Regions from separate parts of the Homo sapiens genome. Here all the other regions are linked to region 3. The links are contacts of gene promoters, found by promoter capture Hi-C in blood cells and fetal thymus (Javierre and others, 2016). All regions are on one chromosome and are shown on one strand. The core of a region is centred on a gene start or on the middle of the fragment in contact, and the rest is flanking DNA. Distances in the headings are between cores, read along the strand shown.

Region 1 (3,080 bases), core at 455-2,954, 280 kb after region 3:
GGTTGGCCTTCACCTGTGTTTTTCATGTACCTACTGTTAATTTTTTTCCCACATGCTCCAATGTATTTGTCACATTCTTATCAGTAACATTTTCTGTGAGCTCAAATGTATCACCTGTTTATTGGAGCCCTGCCCCCTCCTCCTGCCTTTACTGTTGCTCTCAAGAACTGCTGCCTGGGGTCCTCCTGGACCTGCCCTTTCCTGTGCAGGAACCGTATCTTCCTCTTTCTGGGCTTATGTCTTTATTTTTTAAAAGCATATACTTCAGTTATTTCTAAGAAGTATTTGAATGACCTGGTTTTGCCCACACACTTGTTTGATAGTTTGGCAGTTATATAATTCTAGATTGGAAATAAGGTTCTCTCAGAATGTTGAAGGCATCTGTAATTGCTCTAGAGATGTGGTGATTTAAATCCTTCTTACGTGACCGTATTTTGTTTGTTTTCTCCCCTTCTGGAAGCTTTGAGGATATTCTCTATCTCTGGTGTTCTGCAGTTTTATGATGTGTATTAACACCAGGGTATGGGTCTTTTACTCAGCTGTTGTGCTGGCTTCTCACAGACGGTTTTGATTCTGGAAATTCACGTCCTCTAGTTCCGGGATGTTTTCTTGTACTATTTCTGTGATTTTTTGCTCAATCTTTAATTTTTCTTTGATACCTTTTTGTAATATCCATTCTTGTTATGTGGATATGGTGGGCTCAGAGGGCCCGCTGGAGTATTTGAGTTTTCTTCCTCTCTGCACAGGCTCCACTTCCTTCAGGTGATGTGGGCCTTTGCACCTGTGCCTCTGTCTGGATGTGTCTTCCCTCAGATATCCAGCGACTTGCTCCCACACCTCACTTTGGATGAATCCACAAGTCTTTCCTTAAATGTCACCTCAGTGAAGAGAGCACTGGATTGAGAAGTGCAGACCCCCATCTCACTTCCCTGCTTTGTTTCTCTCCAGAAGCATTTCCCACCATCTAGCATCCCACATATTTATTTACTTGTTTCCCTCACCACTAAAATAAACATTCTATGAGGGCAGGGATTTTGGGTTTTTTTTTGTTTACCTCTATAATTCCAGCCTCTGAAACAGTGCCTGGCGATGAATAGATGCTTAATAACTTAAGGAATAAATGAATTATTTTATTGTGGGATTTCTTTGAATGTCTCATGATTCTGACTGTTCATTTCTGTTTTGTTTTTTGTTATTTTAAGTTCCCAGCGTGGGTCTTGTTGGGTGGTGGCCATTACTATAGGGTGGCTGGTATATATGGATTTTGTGTGTATGTTTGTACAAATGTATATGTTTGCTAATATTTCTTTAGCTGACAGTGCATTGGTTGCTGGGACAAGGATGGAGGCTTGGAGAACCTTTTAGTATGCATCTTTTGACATAATCTGTATTTTCAGTTCTTCATTGCTCCTGCTGATGTATTTTACTCCAGACCCATTTCAGATTTCGGTTCATTTTTCTTTAAACCTCTGGATTTGGGGGTGGAGAAAATAGATGAAAATAGGAGGTGAGGAAGAGAATTTGCGCATTAGTTAAATAGACTTTATGCCAATCCGTATTTTCAGATCTGCATTTAAAGCTTGCTTTCCATCTCCAAAAATTCATTGAAAAATTGAATGCTTATCTCCTGCACCTCACATTCTTGGTTTTATACCTTGAAAAAAGAAAAACTCCTCTGTTGCCATTTTAATAGCGTACTTTGAAAAAGATTAAGAAGTAAACACGTAAGGACAGAAGTTATCATGTTTTATATTCTTAGTGTCATGGAATGCAGCACAGGAATATCACATAAGGAAAAGCACAGATTTCTTGTTTTCCTCGTTTATTTTGGAAGCTTATCCTTCAGCTCTTGTTTATCTTTTTTTTTTTTTTTTTTTTTTTTTTTTTTTTTTTTTTTTGAGAGTCTCTCTCTGTTGCCCAGACTGGAGTGGGCATGATCATGACTCACTGCAGCCTCGACCTCCTGGGTTCAAGCAATCCTCCCACCTCAGCCTCCCAAGTAGCTGGGACCATAGGCATATGCCACCACATCTGGCTAAGTTTTTTATTTTTGTAGAGACAGGGTCTCCCTATTGTTTATATGCCTTAAGAGTCAAATTAACAGAGTACATAAGAAACACTCTCTTTTTAGCTCTCTTGCTAAGGAGCAGGTTTGAGATCTGTTGCCAGAACTTAGTACTTCGCAGTTTTATGGATTCCTCAGGAGTCTCGTCCATGGGGCTGGGGCGTGGCTACCCTCTGCTGACTCTTCCTAGGTTCCTGCTCTTCCCCAGCACCTCCCTACCCCCAGCCACTAGAAATAGACTGCTTCTTTCTTTCTTCTACTGCAGAAAACATGCACTACTGTACTTATTAAAATTAACTTAAAAAAAAAAAAAAAGCAGCTCGAGCTGCTTGAGTTTTTTTTTTAAGTTAATTTTAATAAGACATTGAAGGAAGAATTTTTTTTAAAGGGGGGGCTTATATGTATGGAGATTTATGGTGTGAAAGCAGGGGCAAACTCTAATGAATGAAGTTTTTAGAATTGATATGAACATGAACCCAAGATACTCAGACTTATTCCGAGAGTTCCTCTTAAAAACTGCTTTTCTCCACATAAATCCGAATGTCAGCAGTGGTTAGCTCCACGTTGGAGGAAGGGGGGCTTCATTTTGCTCTTTCTGCATATTTCCTGCAGTGATCTGTTACTTTCAAATCTGGGGGAAAGGTGCTCTCTTTTTCTGAATGAAGTCTCCACCTGCCTCCCTTGGGCCCAGGCTGCCCAGCTTTCTGGCTGCTCCCTGAGAGTCCTCCTTGGTCTTCCACTGACCTCCTTCACTTCCTTATGAAAGTATGTTTTTAGTCTCCCTAACCTGCTTTCTGTTTTCTCTCTCTCTCTTTTTTTTTTAATACCCTCAATTGTTTTCACTGGCCACTTTTTTTTTAAGACTGATGCTTGGCTGGGCTTGGTGGCCCATGCCTGTAATCCCAACACTTTGGGAGGCCAGGGCAAGAGGATTGCTTGACAAGGCCAGGAGTTCAAGATCAGCCTGGTCAACATAGCAAGAGCCCATCTCTACAACAAAATTTAAAAATTAGCC
Region 2 (3,391 bases), core at 745-3,244, 260 kb after region 3:
TAGGCTGATCTCAGAACTCCTGGGCTCAAGCGATCCTCCCGCCTTGGCCTCCCAAAGTGCTGGGATTACAGGCATGAGCCACCATGCCCAGTCTACCACGCTTCTTAAACCAGGTCCCTCTCAAGCCCAGATGGTAACTAATTACAAGCAGATGACATGACCTAATATTTGATATTTCTTATGGTGTGCTTAAATGTTCTATTAATTTTTAAAAGGCCATTCCATATTTACAAATAAAAGTTATTTAAAACGCAAACACATTTTTAAAAAATCATACTTTTATGGCTAACGAATCAACATACAAGAGCATTTCAGCTTACTCTGCCTAGCTATAATCACATTCCCTGCACCCTTAAAAGCTGCAGATCAACTAGGTTATATGAGGTTGTTGTCCTGGTCCTTAAGCACCCCCATGAGTCAGTCGACACTAAAGAAGACAGTCCTTTTGCGGGGCACAGAGCCGCTGACCTCGGCTTGAGAAGGGTCTGGGAAGGTGCAGCAGGGCAGACATCTGCCCCAGTCTCCAATGTGGTGACCCCATATCCCAGGGAAGCTTAGGAATTCTCAAAAAGTCAACTGTCACTAGCTTGGTAGCTCCCAGTTCAGCAACCAACACAAAACCCAGCACTGAAGTGCTAAAGAATCACGAAGAACAGTAGGGCAGCATTTGTGACAAAGCCGGGCAGACAGAACGACACAGCTGGTTCTCAGTCTAGCTCCAACGTGCCCGCCTGGGGAACAACAGTCCCGCCTCACACTTACTTGTCAGTAAACCACACAGCTAACTGAATTTTCCCAGCTAAAGAGAGCTCCCTGAGATGAGTGAATATCCCCAGATACCTTCAGCCTAGTAAATATTCAGTTTGCCAAATTAAAGACTAGATTTACATCTTGGAGGAGACCATATTTATATATGAGAATATAAATCATCTGTTACTTCTCCAAAATGTATCCTGACTAGCTCCTACTTTTCTACATTTTCCAGTTCTTTTATTTCCATCATCTGTTCCTCTAAGATTGTTCTCCTTTTTGTGAGACAGGGTCTCACTCTGTCACGAGGCTGGAGTGCAGTGGCACAATCATGGCTCACTACAGTCTCAACCTCCTGGGCTCAGGTGATCCTCCTAGCTCAGCCTCCTGAGTAGCTGGGACCACAGGTGTGCGTGTGCCAACACACCCAGCTAATTTTTGTATTTTTTGTAGCAACAGGGTTTCACCACGTTGCCCAGGCTGGTCTCGAATTCCTGGGCTGAGGTGATCCGCCCGCCTCGGCCTTTTCGGCCTCTCAGAGTGCTGGGATTATAGGTGTGAGCCACCGCGCCCAGCCTCTTCTCCATTCTTGTGGGTATTCCTGTTCATCTGTTTCCCTGAATTAATGTCAATTATCACTATTTCCTAAGTGTCACATTCTTGTTCCTTTTTCTTGACTAGCATGGTTTACTAGAAACAGAAATAACAGCAAAAATATTTAGGTCTTATATAAACAAATATAGTCATCTCGTCTGTGCTTTCAAAGTTAAATTTATTATGCACAGTAATGGGTACCATGGAGACAGGGAAAGGGCTAGAAAGTGGCATCATCTATACAGAGGGAACATATAAAGACTGTCCCGGGGTGTACCCCCCTAACTGTGCTGTCACTCCAACTCTGTCAGAAAGAAAAAGTAGTGTGAGGTGTATTTGTTTGCAAGAAACAAGGTGGAAACTAGATGGACCAGCTGAGCAGGGAGGCCAAGGTCATTTCCATCTATCCCTAATGGTGTTCAGTATAGCCCTCTCCTTCCTGAGACCTAAGAACAGAAGATACGCTTCCACAACAGAGATTTTTGATTTTTTAATGGCAGCACTCTCATAACTACATTCACGGACCAACCAAAGCCATCTCCAAGCCTAGAAAGGATACATACTACACGCAGCGAAAATGCCAACCACTGATCCAGAATTTTCAAGATGGCACCTTTCCCCAAACTTCTATACCATTCATTAAACATAGACTGCAAACTGCTAGCCTGTAGACCAAATTCAACCTCTAAGTATTATTTGCTTAGGTGCCTAAGCATCTTTAAAAATTTGATTTAGTTGGCAATACACTGGGAGGTTTCACATAAATATCTAGGTTTCCAGCTTCTCTGAAGAAATGAGAAAATCCATTCCCACATGGCAACAACCAGCTGGAGCTAACAGCTGTTAGACAGCATGCCGCTCCCCGCTACTGCCTTACACCCAGCCAGCTTCATGTGTGCATGTTATCTGCCTGCCATTCACATCGGTTCTCCTTGCTCAGCAAATGTCCCACCTCAACCTCACACTCAATACCCTTATACAGGTTCCCTAATCAGAGTTCAGTAGGGCACCCACACTATAGCTGGGCAATCCCTGGATGCTGTGATATTTGTTAACCATTATGTTCTTTCCAACCACGGGAACCTTCCTAAGAGCTCAAGAGCTTCACTGCTGGATAAAAACAGTTCCTGATCCCGGATTCTGACCTTTAGTTTTCCTTTTCCAGTCACTGCCCCAGTCTGCCTGGCCCTGGGCTCTGTTCCATATTGGCAATGAGAGCCCACGGCAGGGAGACTTCCAGCAGGCTTTTCCACAGTGCAGCCAAACTATCAGTAAATAGACTTTGTTCTCCATTAAAAGCCCTGTAGCAGCTGAGTTGCTTTACCTTATCCCACCTGGCTCTTACGCAGTCTGTTCCAAGTGAGAAGTTAGCAGAGTCCTGTAAACAAAGAACAGTTCAGGGGCCAACCTGCGCTCCCAGGTGCCAGGATGCTCTCAGGGTCTTCACTGTGCTCCCAGGTGCCAGGGTGCTCCCATGGTCTTCACTGTGCTCCCAGACACTTGGCTTCATTGTTCTCATTTTGATCCTCATTTGGCATCTCTAAACGCAGGCGGTGCAGGGAATGCACAAAGAAGCGAGGAAGTTTGCAGACCAAGTTGAGTTCCTCCTTCCCGGACCCCAGGGCAGGCAGGATCAGCTGCCGGGCGTGCAGGTGAAGGGGGATGTAGCGGGCCTTCGACTGTTCTAGCCCCAGCTTCTTCAGGGTGCCCACAGACAGCTTCTATACAAAGAAAGGACAGACCCTTGAGAGCAAGGCCAACAGTCCACCCTTGACGAACATGCAAGGTCAGGGCACTTCTACTTACAGGGAACCAAAACTAACCCCCTGGAAGACACAGTAATGGAGAGTCTGCTTCAGTGGCATGTCTAAGAACGGCTCAGAACTCAGGTAAGGGAAAAATGACCACACCAAGACATTCTTTTTGGCCAGTGCTTTTTGGCCTAACAAGAGAATGGGCTGTGGTATAAGGATGAAAAGGCTTTCCCTGCGGTTTTTTAGTAGCACCATGAAAAGCTGCTCCCAGCCTTCAGAAACACCCCTCCCCT
Region 3 (3,078 bases), core at 78-2,577:
CATCTGTAGCTTCTGAATTTTCTACTTTATTTAGAAAAATCTCTTCAAACTCTAGATCATATATTCTAATATTTTTCCTCATGAAACTGTTTTAAATGTTATATTTAAATCTTTCGGATCTGAAATTTTGTTTTAATAACTTAATGAGGTAGAGGTCGTAACCTTTTTTTTTCATTCAGACATAGAGTCAACTGTGCCTATACAATTTATTAAAGAAACCATAGTTTGAATCCACTGGTTTGAAATACCACCTTTATTGTACCCTATAATCCATACGCACGGGGATAAATTTCTGAACTTTGTTCTATTTCTGCCCTATGGGGCTATTTATCTTGTCCTGTACTTTTAATGTACGATTTGATCCCAGTAACTTTATAGTTTTCCTTAGGCCACTTGTAATATTTCTTTGCTGCTGTTGTTTTCATCATTACCATTAAAAAATTCCTTCCAGCTATCAGAGCCTGTGAATGTCAGTAACTTCAAAACAGGCCAGAATAAAGCCAAGAAGGGGAGGGATGGGCCTGTCCCTTACCTGTCCATGTGCCTTTTCAGGAATCAGCTGAGGCAGTGGCCAGACAACAACATTAGGTGAGCACCCACTACGCATTCAGCATTGCTCTTACCACTAACGACAAAGCTGGAAGACCAGAACTTCCAGCAATGGGGTAACAAGGTTCTTATTTCTCAGCTCTGGACCTGTATCTTCTGCAGCCAGTTTTGCGATGTTGGGCTTGGACCCTACCAACTCCATTTCTGTTTTGCCAGTCACTAGAGGGAGGCTGCAGGCGGGACAGGAAGTGTGGACAGGCTCCTTCCTGTTTGCATCTGTGTGTTCCCTGTGAGGGCACCCCAGCAACACATCTTCACCCCAGGAACAGCAGGCCCCTCCTGGAGCAGCACCTGATCCAGTTTGCAGTGTTCCCAACACTTGCAGCTCCATCATCCACCCCACCCCAGCCCTGCATCCCTACCTGAGAGACCCCAGCACCAGCTGGCAGGTGCCCCTTCCGCAGAGGTCTGGGTGCAGGAGTCCTTTCTTCACACCCGGAGACCCCAGCTCCCGCTGAGTTGAGCCCCCTCCTCAGATGTCTGGGTCACAGGCTCTGGAACCCTCCTTCAAAACTCTTCCTTAGGGTTCTCCAGCCCTGGAGTGGTAGCTGCTCCTGCAGGTGCAACCCCCATGAAAGCTTACTCTTCTCTCTCCTTACCCTCTCCTTACCTAATTAACAACTTCATACCTCATTATCAGTTCCTTATGCTGAATTCTCTTTTCAAACTAACTGGTGTGGTTTCTGTCTCCTGATTGAACCCCAGCTGACACAGGTAATGAGGAATTGAAGTTTTCTGGGAAGTGAGGGCTGCCTCTCTTGGCCGCCCTGCTGAGAGCTCCCTTCCCTCCTCCATTCCCAGAATTATTTGGCTGCTGGTCGCCAAGGAGACGACTGACAATTTCCAGTTGCCAAGCCTCACCCTGGAGCTCTACAGAGACATTATGGAAACTCCCCACTCCTTCCTGCTCCTCAGCCAGGGAACTTGGAGAATCTAGCCAGGTTGGGTGGAGGGCACTGGGAGGGGATAGAGAGGAGGTGACAAGCCTGAAGATGGAGAGAGCAGCTAGAAGTTTCCCTGGGCCCTGGCTTCCCCAACAGACCTCAAAAGTCTGGCCCACCCTTGAAGGCTAGGGCTGGCCTGGTGGGCATCCCCTGTGCTGGGTCCAGACAGACTCCTACCAGGGACCTCCAACCAGACCCTCAACTACAGAGAACTGTCCCTATATTGTCATTCCCGGCCTGGTAGCAGCACTGTTGCCAGATGGGGCAGAACCCAGGAAGAACCTGGGAACTGAAGGGCTAGGAGTCTTTCCTGGGGGAAGGAACTGCAGCTGTCCTGAGCACTTTGCTCATATCAGACAGCACTCAAATGCACTGAGGCCTAGTGTCACAGCCCGGGAAACAGCAACAACAGCAACGCTAATAATAATAATCGTAGTGGTGCAGTAGGTGTGACTCTTACTCTATAAACTTAGGTGCACAAAAATATCCATTTCTCTATTTCACTAAAATCAAGTAGAGTTGAGTTCATTCCTGGGGCTCCTGCCTTTTTCCAGCGTCCCACCAGAACCCGGGGGCTTATTGCTATGGTTTAAATGTGTCCCCAAAATTCAGGTGTTGCCAGTGTGGTAGTATTAAGAGATGGGGTCTCCAAGAGGTGGTTGGGCCACGAGGGCTCCTCCCCTGTGAATGGGAGTAGCTGCCCTTATAAAAGGGCTTGACAAAGGGAGTTTATCCCTTTTTGCCCTTCTGCCTTCCACTATGTGGGGACATGGCCTTCGTCTCCTCTGGAAGATGCAGTGACAAGGCGCCATCTTGGAAGACAACAGCTCTCACCAGACACCGGACCTGCTGGAGCCCCGGTCTTGGACTTCCCAGTCTCCAGAACTGTAAGAAAATAAATTTCTGTTCTTTATAAATTACCCAGTCTCAGGTATTCTAGTATAGCCACACAAATTGACTAAGAAACTTAGGAGGGATGAAACCAAGGGAAGGCCTCTAACTGCTGGTCCATCGTGGTGGTTGTTGGCCTGCTCGTTGTCCAAGCTTTCTGTGGGCCTGTGCAGTCAGCAATAGCTCTCCAGTCCTGTACGCTCTGGGGTCCTGGCCTGCTGTCTCCAGACTCTTCTTCTCCCAGGTACCTAGTGACCTCTGAACTGTCCCCAAACTCAGGGAAATCTCTTCCTCTCTGCTCTAACTGCCCCCAAAGGCACTCTCCTTTCTCCATCTCACCCCTTCCACCACCCGGCATACCTCACACAACTTTTACAAAATTAGGAAGATGTTAATGTACAGCTTCTTCCCTGCAAGAATCCCCATGGCAATGCAGGGCTAGAGGCCTGGTGAAAGCAGCTTCTGGTCTGTTTTTGCGTAGTAGTTTAAGGTAAGCTAAAGACATCGGGACATCTCATTGCTGAGTGTTTTAGTATTCATTAAAAAACAGAAACATTGTCTTACATCATCAAAAAACTATTCTCACATATAACAAAATTAATTTTCTAACTTTTTTTTTTTTTTGAGACTGAGT

The links. The method cuts DNA at HindIII sites, captures the fragments that hold promoters and counts their contacts. A CHiCAGO score of 5 or more calls a contact.
Region 1: a contact is called between a fragment that was not itself captured here and the fragment with the promoter of DDX25-AS1 in region 3, in 1 of 17 cell types (naive CD4 T cells). The highest score is 5.4, in naive CD4 T cells.
Region 2: a fragment that was not itself captured here is called in contact with the fragment with the promoter of DDX25-AS1 in region 3 in 7 of 17 cell types (naive CD4 T cells, non-activated CD4 T cells, total CD4 T cells and 4 more); the score reaches 11.5 in naive CD4 T cells.

The regions. Positions count from the first base shown.
Region 1 is chr11:126,217,492-126,220,571 of GRCh38, forward strand. The region is part of intron 1 of FAM118B (family with sequence similarity 118 member B); the gene reads left to right. Among named protein-coding and RNA genes, the nearest start is that of FAM118B, 7.2 kb to the left of the region's middle. The HindIII fragment of the contact is 255 bases long and covers 1,578-1,832 here.
Region 2 is chr11:126,200,593-126,203,983 of GRCh38, forward strand. It overlaps RPUSD4 (RNA pseudouridine synthase D4), which reads right to left. Exons shown (of 7, transcript NM_032795.3): 7 at 1,504-3,065. The coding sequence ends at 2,826. Among named protein-coding and RNA genes, the nearest start is that of RPUSD4, 9.4 kb to the right of the region's middle. The HindIII fragment of the contact is 2,886 bases long and covers 552-3,391 here.
Region 3 is chr11:125,937,715-125,940,792 of GRCh38, forward strand. DDX25-AS1 (DDX25 antisense RNA 1) reads right to left here and starts at 1,328. Exons shown (of 4, transcript NR_199024.1): 1 at 972-1,328. The HindIII fragment of the contact is 1,410 bases long and covers 1,186-2,595 here.